3 separate regions of the Homo sapiens genome follow, and regions 1 and 2 are each linked to region 3. Evidence: promoter capture Hi-C in human tissues and cell types (Jung and others, 2019). All regions are on one chromosome and are shown on one strand. The core of a region is centred on a gene start or on the middle of the fragment in contact, and the rest is flanking DNA. Distances in the headings are between cores, read along the strand shown. Region 1 has its middle 30 kb from the start of TRIML2. Region 2 has its middle 26 kb from the start of LINC02434. Region 3 holds the start of TRIML1 (tripartite motif family like 1).

Region 1 (2,700 bases), core at 68-2,567, 60 kb after region 3:
CATTCTGTGTTCAATCTATCAGCAAAGACTGTCAGCTCTACCATCCATATATGTCCCTCAGCAAACACTCGCCATCCTCCCTTTGACCACACTAGTTGAGGCTGTGATCTTTCATCTGGACCGCAGTGCTAGGCTCCAGCTGGCTGCCACCACACAGGCCTTTCTTGATCTGTCCTCCACAAAGAGCGCCCTCCCTGAACATTCTCTCCAATCCCCACTCATTCTCTTACCTCTTACCCTACATTATTTTCTTTGTAGCATTAATCATGACCTGATTTAACATTATGTATTTAACTTCCTGTCTGGAATGGAAACCCCATGATGGCAAAGGCGTTAAATGAATGAACAAGAAACCCAGAAAGTGTTTATTAAACAATCCCTGTATGTCGGGTATTTGCCTTACCTGAAGGAACAAAACAAAGATCTCAGCATTAATGAACAGATGAGGAAGCTTGATTTTGAAGTTTCACAGGACAATTTTATCTAAAAAACTCTACAAATTAGCTTTTGTTTGTTTTTGTTTTTTGTTTTGTCGAACTGATGGCTACTTAATCAAGCAGCTTCTCTAGTATGCCTATAATATTTCATCATGACCCAGCAACCATTAAGTTTTGCCAAGGATGTCTCCTGAGTACAGGAAAGCAAAGAGGTGAAGGAATTAGCAAAGTGATGGTGAATGGGAAAATTCCCAGGACGACAGCATCAGTTGGCCCTAATTAGAACAAAAGGTGGAAGATTCACAGAAGGGTACCTTGAAGGAAAAAATAAATAGAATTGATTATTTCCTAGCCGTTTGGCTATGTCAAGAAAAGCTTTATAGCTCCATAGGACAGTATAAGGGATGAATCTGTGTTTGGTACACTAGGAAAAAAAAACTAAATATATATAGAGAGAACTGTTAACTCCATAAAAAACAAAGGTGTTGATGGCTTAATAAAATGTTGCTTTGACTATATTGGAATGAGGTGGCAGGGAAGTTATCTGTAGCAAGTAAAAGGTAAAAGATAATCCTTCTTTCTTTCTCTTTTCTTTCTTTTTTTTTTTCTTTTCTTTCGACAGGGTCTCACCCTGTTACCCAGGCTGGAGTGCAGTGGCACAGTCATTCTGCCCATTCTGCAGCCTTGAATTCCTGGACTCAAGGGATTCTTCTACCACAGCTTCCCAAGTAGCGTGGACTACAGGCTTGCACCGCCACGCCCAGCTAATTGTTTACCTTTTTGTAGAGATGGTGTCTTGCTCTGTTGCCCAGGCTGGTCTCAAACTTCTGGACTCAAGCAGTCCTCCACCTTGGCTTCCCAAAGTGCTGGGATTACAGGTGTGAGTCACTGCAACTGGCCAATCTTTCCAATTTAGATTTCTATTTCCAATTTCTATTTCTAAGGAAATAGAAATAGAATGCCTCATTCTGTTTCTTATAGAATATACATGATATTCCTTAACTTAAATGAAAGATGAGGGAATATCATGCATATTCTATAAGAAAGAACTGAGAGTTGGACATGACTGTATCTAGATAGCCGGAATGGGGGAGAAGAGAGGATTTTTTTTTTTTAATTATAAACCTTCGAGCACTTTTTGATCTTTGGTACTAAAATATATGTATTATTTTGGTGAATTAAATTAAATTCAAAACAATGGATAATGGATAAATGATGAATTGTGTTTCTATTAAAAGCGAAGAAAATTTTAGTGTCAGAGGTTACTAGGAATGTCAGATTATTTCAATGACAATTATAATATAAGGGATTTTTTTTTTTTTTGAGACAGAGTTTTGCTCGCTCTTGTCACCCAGGCTGGAGTGCAGTGGTGTGATCTTGGCTCACTGCAACCTCTGCCTCCCAGGTTCAAGCAGTTCTCCTGCCTCAGCCTCCCGAGTAGCTGGGATTACAGGTGCCTGCCACCACATCCAGCTAATTTTTGTATTTTTAGTAGAGACGGGGTTTCACCTTGTTGGCCAGGCTGGTCTCAAACTCCTGACCTCAGGTGAACTGCCCATCTCGGCCGCCCAAAGTGCTGAGATTATAGGTGTGAGCCACCGCAACCAGCCAATATAAGGGGTTTTTTCAAAGGTATATTGACTAAGGTGTTATGAAGATTTTTAGCTCTCAGGAGAAAATCTATATACTAACAGAGAAAGGCCCCCCAAAAAAGTAATATAATAAGGAAAACCTTACTAATTGAACAAGGAAAATAAGGAGATGCTAGCCAATAAGAGACAAGTCATTGAAGACCTGGGAAATTAACAGACAAGCTTGAATTCTGGGCAAATAAAGTGAAAATTTGGTGAAAATAAATCAATAGATTATTGCAATTGCTCCAAGTTTGCAGAAGTTGGCATACTTATGATAAAGTTAATAAAGTGAAAACAGTCTAATATAGAAAATTATTCTTGTAATAACAAAACTTAAAAAAAAGAGAAAGAAAGAAAGAATGACATGGAGCTATTCCAACTGGCCATGGTCCAGAGGCCGGTAATCAGCCACTGGTTATTTAGTGAGTGCTTTTGTCCTCCAGCAATACTCAAATGTTTCCCTAAACTTGTGTCTAACTAAACATTTGGCTTCCTAGGCTAATGGTTTCCTGGATTAATAGCTGTACAAAATTGTGAGCAATTGTTTGAATTGTGAATGGATGGAAATTGTTTTGAATACTTAAAATTAATGGACTACAGTCATATGCTGCCTAATGACGGCTCCAGTC
Region 2 (2,700 bases), core at 20-2,519, 47 kb before region 3:
TCCACCTTGAATTAATTAAGAAAGACCTGGCTGGGGGAGGTGGCTCATACCTGTAATCTCAGCACTTCGGGAGGCCAAGGTGGGTGGGTCACTTGAGGTCAGGAGTTCAAGATCAGCCTGGCCAACATGGTAAAACCCCATCTGTACTAAAAATACAAAAATTAGCCAGGCATGATAGTGGGAGCCTGTAATCCCAGCTACTTGCATGGCTGAGACAGGAGAATTGCTTGAACCTGGGAGAAAGGGGTTGCAATGAGCTGAGATTGCACCAATGTACTCCAGCCTGGGCGACAGAGCAAGACTCCATCTAAAAAAAAAAAAAAACCTAAAATTGTGCAGTATTTCTTTCTCTGAGCAATGTTTTATAGCTATCTGCATAGAGATTTTACACATCATTTTGTTGCCAAAACACCAGGGATTTGGTCTAGGTCCTGTTCTCACTGCACAGAAAGCCAATCAACAAGTATTGCCAAGGAAGAAGTTTTTAATGGGATGCTGCAGCCAAGGAGATGGGAGCTCAGTCTCAAATCCTCTCCCTGACTGACTACAACTAGGGATTTATACAGCAGGAAATAAATATAACAATGTGTAAGAAAACAAGAAGGCATATGATCTGGTGAGTTTCAGTTCTTCGACACTTTTTTTTGAGAGGACTGAAGGTTCTTTCCTGAGGACCTAACTCAGATAAAATGAATACAAGTTTCAAGCTTTAACAGCAGAAGGGTCCGGATCAAGAGGTCAGGAGATAGAGACCATCCTGGCTAACACGGTGAAACCCCGTCTCTACTACAAATACAAAAAATTAGCCGGGCGTTGAGTCCCAGCTACTCGGAGGCTGAGGCAGGAGAATGGCATGAACCTGGGAGGCGGAGGTTGCAGTGAGCCGAGATCACACCACTGCACTTCAGCCTGGGCGACAGAGAGAGACTCCGTCTCAAAAAAAAGAAAAAGAAAGACAGAAGATAAAAAGCTTCTACTCTCTTAGACAATTTCAAGTATACACTGCATCCATATATACAAGGAGGCAGTGAATACTTGAAATTGTCTGAGACAGTAGATCTTAGGTGTCCTAACCACATACACATAATACACACACACACACACACACACACACACACAGAGGTAACTATGTGTGATGATGATTGTTAAATAACTTGACTGTGGTCATTTCACAATGTAAACATATCTCAAATTACCATATTGTATTACTTGAATATATATAATTTTAATTTATCAATTATACCTAAATAAAGCTGGAGGAAAATAATGTATACTGGGAAGGAACAACATCCACACATTAAGTTTATTTTTTTATTTTCTTTTTTTATTTTTGTTTGAGATGGAGTCTCACTTTGTCCCCCAGGCTGGAGTGCAGTGGTGCCACCTCAGCTCACTGCAACCTCAGCCTCCCAAGTTCAAGTGATTCTCCTGCCTCAGCCTCCTGAGTAGCTGGGATTACAGGCACCCACAACCACACCCAGCTAATTTTTGTATTTTTAGTAGAGACAGGGTTTCACCATGTTGGACCAGGCTGCTCTCGAACTCCTGACCTCAGGTGATCCACCCGCTTCAGCCTCCCAAAGTGCTGGGAATATAGGCGTGAGCCACTGCACCTGGCCCACACATTAAGTTTACAAAACAAGACACAGAAGGGGAAACTATGGAATAACAGGACTAGAAAGAGTAGGAGATTTTGTAAATGTTTTTATTATGAAAATATTTGATACACATAAGAGAATGTTTGTGACAGATGTATATTTATATACACACAAACATATACATCTGTAGATAGGATGGATAGATAAGATTAGATAGAAGATAGATAGATAGAGAGATAGATAGATAGACAGACAGACAGACAGATAGCAGATAGAGATAGATTTTCATGAAACAAACACCATTGACCCCTTCACCCACACTAAGACATGGAACGTCACTGTTATCTCTGAAGCTCCTGTTCGCTTCTGTTACTTCATCCCTGGCCCTGGGTTTTCTCCAAGAGTTCCATTCACATACGTGTTGCACAGCTGTTAATACACTGCCTAGTGTGCTTGGCTTTGAATTTATAATACAGTATCATGCTGCATATCTTTCCACAACTTGCTTCCACAATGTATTAACTTTCTGAGTTTCGATCACCCTGACATGTGTAATTCAAGTTTATTCATTTTCACCATTATATAGTGTCCAATTCATGAATAAACCTCAATTTCTTTATCCATTTTCCCACAAATAGACCCAATAGACATTTGGTTACTTGCAAGGTTTTGTTCTTGTCTTTTGCTATTATTAACAATGCTCCTAGAAACATTATTTTGTATGATTCCTTGTGCAAAGGGGTAGACATTTTTCCTACAGCACATACTAGAATTGGGCATACTCACATTCAGTTTACAAGATAATGCCAAATTGATTTTGAAAGTCATTGCACCAATTCACACTCTTAGCAACTGCCCCAGGGACATCCTTGTTCTATATCCTGGTCATATTTACCTATGTATTAGGTGTATCATGAGATTTCATTAAATATTAAATTGCCTTTTACTGATTATTACGAATTGAGAATCTTTTTATATATATCTACTGGCCACTTATATTCCTGTTCTGTAAAGTACTTGTTAGTACCTTTTACAGATTTTTCTAACAGGTTATTTCCTCTACTGTGAAATTTTTTCACATCTTTTCCCCATTTTTGTTGAT
Region 3 (2,740 bases), core at 3-2,502:
TCACTAAATTTCCCTTTAGTCCCCCTTATGGGGTCATATACAAGCAGCAAAAGTCAGACAGACACCGACCTGGCACAGTTTCACTCTCTCCTTCTCATGGGTTAGTACAGCCTGAGCTTCCTTTCTCCTTACACGCAAAAGATTCAGGATTTCCTGGAGTTTCTCCTGCAATAGAAACAAACCCTTTCTGGCAAATGAGCAGAGTCCCAGGTCATGAAGGGGCTTTGAAGACCAGTAACTGCGCAGTCCTAGGCCTCTAAAACAAAGGGCAGGCTGGGTGCGGCGCCTCACGCCTGTAATCCCAGCACTTTGGGAGGCCGAGGCAGGCGGATCACCTGAGGTCAGGAGTTCAAGACCAGCCTGGCCAACATGGTGAAACCCCGTCTCTATTAAAAATACAAAAAATTAGCCGGGCGTGGTGGTGGGTGACTGTAGTCCCAGCTACTGGGGAGGCTGAGGCAGGAGAATGGCGTGAACCTGGGAGGCGGAGGTTGCAGTGACTGAGATCGCACTGCTGCACTCCAGCCTGGGCAACAGAGCAAAACTCTGTCTCAAAAACAAAAAAAGGGAAAAAAAAGGGTGTAAACTGGACCCACGCCAGTTTGTGATGTGGTGCTCAGATGGGCCCTCGTGACTGTCCCCCACAGAGGACGTTAGGAAACGTCAGGAAAGCTAACGGAGTTAGCTGCGATGAGTCGTGGGGTTCATGCTGAGCAGCTGTCTTACTCTGTGATGCTCCTCAGCCTCGCTGGAGAGATGCACTCTGTTTGCACCATGGCTCTGGGCTACGAAGGCGCTTCCACCCTGCTCGTCATCGGAGAGCGCCTTGGCAGTGGTGGGCATCCTCCCGTAGCTGCCCTGCTCATCCTCGCTCTGCAGCACCTGGGACCGGAGCTGCCTGGCGATGCTGGCCAGCCTCCCCAGACGCTCGTTTGACTGGAAATGCGGGCCCTCCAAGGTCCTCCAGCACTCAGGACAAGATAAAGGTGTGTTATGTTCCTCCCAGCTCCTGAGGAGACACACCAGACAAAAGCTGTGCCCACACTCGGTGGTCACTGGGCTGCTGAAATAGTCTAAGCAGATGAAACAGGTGAGTTCCTCCCTGAGGTTCTCCATCAGATCTGCTGTAGACATTTTCTCGAGGCTGGATATGCAGCCAGGTTACACCTCTGTTCTGGGATTAGCAAAGCCCTCACTGCCGTCCTACAGTTTTGAGTAACACGCGGGTGACCTGTTCCTATGTTGTTATGACAAGAAACCCTTATCTCTTCTGTGCCTGATTTCACCAGCTGACATACACTGTCCAACACAAAGCCAATTATGACTTAATGTGGAACTCCTGTATACTGGGCTCCTCACCAACCCCAAACTTTGAGACTTATCTCTGTGAAAAGCACACATGCTAGAGGCTGAGGATTCTGGCTTCTAACAGGATTACCATTTTGAGAACTGGTTATTGTACATAAACAGCACTGTGGAACCATGTGAGCATGTGGGTTTTAGGCTGGAAGCTTGGGTGATTTGGTGTAAACCAGTAAAGAGATTTGAGTTTTGATGATCTCTAATAATATCTGAATTGGAAATTTGGTCCAAATCTTTTGGGAACTCCACTAATAAAACCTAGTTGAGAACTGAGAGAAGAAAACTGTAATACATAGTCCTTTTCTCATTAGCCCCTTTTGTTCTGCTTGACCAAAGCCTAAGCTTTTGTTCCTTTATTGGGTACTGTGTACTTTTATTTAATTTTATTCATCCCAACAAAATGAGAGCTCTTCCACTGAAGTATTCCTTGGTGTTAGGCGCACGATGAATTGCCAGAGCTGTTTATTGATCTTCCCTGCACACCCTAGTACTCACCCATCTGCCATCTTGGAAAGCATCTAAAATGACATTCTAATTGGAAGTTGCCTCAAGAGGCTATCCCACTATGGAGCAGATGGAAAGAATTATATTTTAGTATAAATGTAATTTTGCTCACTTATTTTCACCCATTGAAAATTTCCAAACTAGGCCCCTTCAAATCCCTGATTATCAGTTCTTACTGGACAGAAATGAAGTGTGCAGACATTTTTTCGGACATATGAAAAAGTAAATGCCTAGTGTGGAGACTGTGCACAGTGAACTCCGAGATTGGTAACAAATGCCACAAATTCACTGTGTCCCCTGCTCGGGAGTCAGCTCCTGTCCTGGCCTGCCTTCTGCTCACTGCATGCCAGGAAGTTGCACCTCAAAAGCTCTTCCTCAAAGGCCAGCGAGTTTGACCTTCCCACGAACTCATCACGCCATATTTCTGTCTCCGTCCCCTCACTCTCCAGCTTGGCAGCCTTCCACGAGTCGGGTCCATTACTCAGGCTGTTCCGTTCATTGGTTTCTGACTTTCAAGGCTCCAACTGCTACTTCTTTCCCACTTACCTCCAACAGGATGTTGGATGTTTTCTTATCTTGAACTTTGGGAAAAAGAAGTTTTCTGGCTGAGAATGTTTTTTCCTCCACCTTCCTTTCTCCTAGTCAAAACTCACCTTTCTGAAATCATTAATTCAAAATGTTTCAATCCTATACATCCCTTGTAAAGCATACGTGAATTGCTAGGATGAGAATTTAAGCTATGAAAAAATAAGAGCAAAGAGTTATACTACTGTAAAGAGGAAGAGAGGTGGCATCAGGGTGGCATCATGAAACCTCTACCAAGATAGCCTCCAGGATACTAACTTGTCACAGCTTCAGAATATTGCTATGAGTT

Evidence for each region. The method cuts DNA at HindIII sites, captures the fragments that hold promoters and counts their contacts. A contact is called where the count stands out against the background at its distance.
Region 1: a fragment that was not itself captured here is called in contact with the fragment with the promoter of TRIML1 in region 3 in 4 of the 25 tissues and cell types used here (H1 embryonic stem cells, heart left ventricle, neural progenitor cells and 1 more).
Region 2: a contact is called between a fragment that was not itself captured here and the fragment with the promoter of TRIML1 in region 3, in 3 of the 25 tissues and cell types used here (adrenal gland, heart left ventricle and psoas muscle).

The regions. Positions count from the first base shown.
Region 1 is chr4:188,078,104-188,080,803 of GRCh38, reverse strand. No RefSeq gene overlaps it. Among named protein-coding and RNA genes, the nearest start is that of TRIML2, 30 kb to the left of the region's middle. The HindIII fragment of the contact is 3,588 bases long and covers 1-2,700 here.
Region 2 is chr4:188,185,053-188,187,752 of GRCh38, reverse strand. No RefSeq gene overlaps it. Among named protein-coding and RNA genes, the nearest start is that of LINC02434, 26 kb to the right of the region's middle. The HindIII fragment of the contact is 3,842 bases long and covers 1-2,700 here.
Region 3 is chr4:188,137,953-188,140,692 of GRCh38, reverse strand. TRIML1 (tripartite motif family like 1) reads right to left here and starts at 1,252. Exons shown (of 6, transcript NM_178556.5): 1 at 727-1,252; 2 at 70-165. The coding sequence starts at 1,134. The HindIII fragment of the contact is 25,840 bases long and covers 1-2,740 here.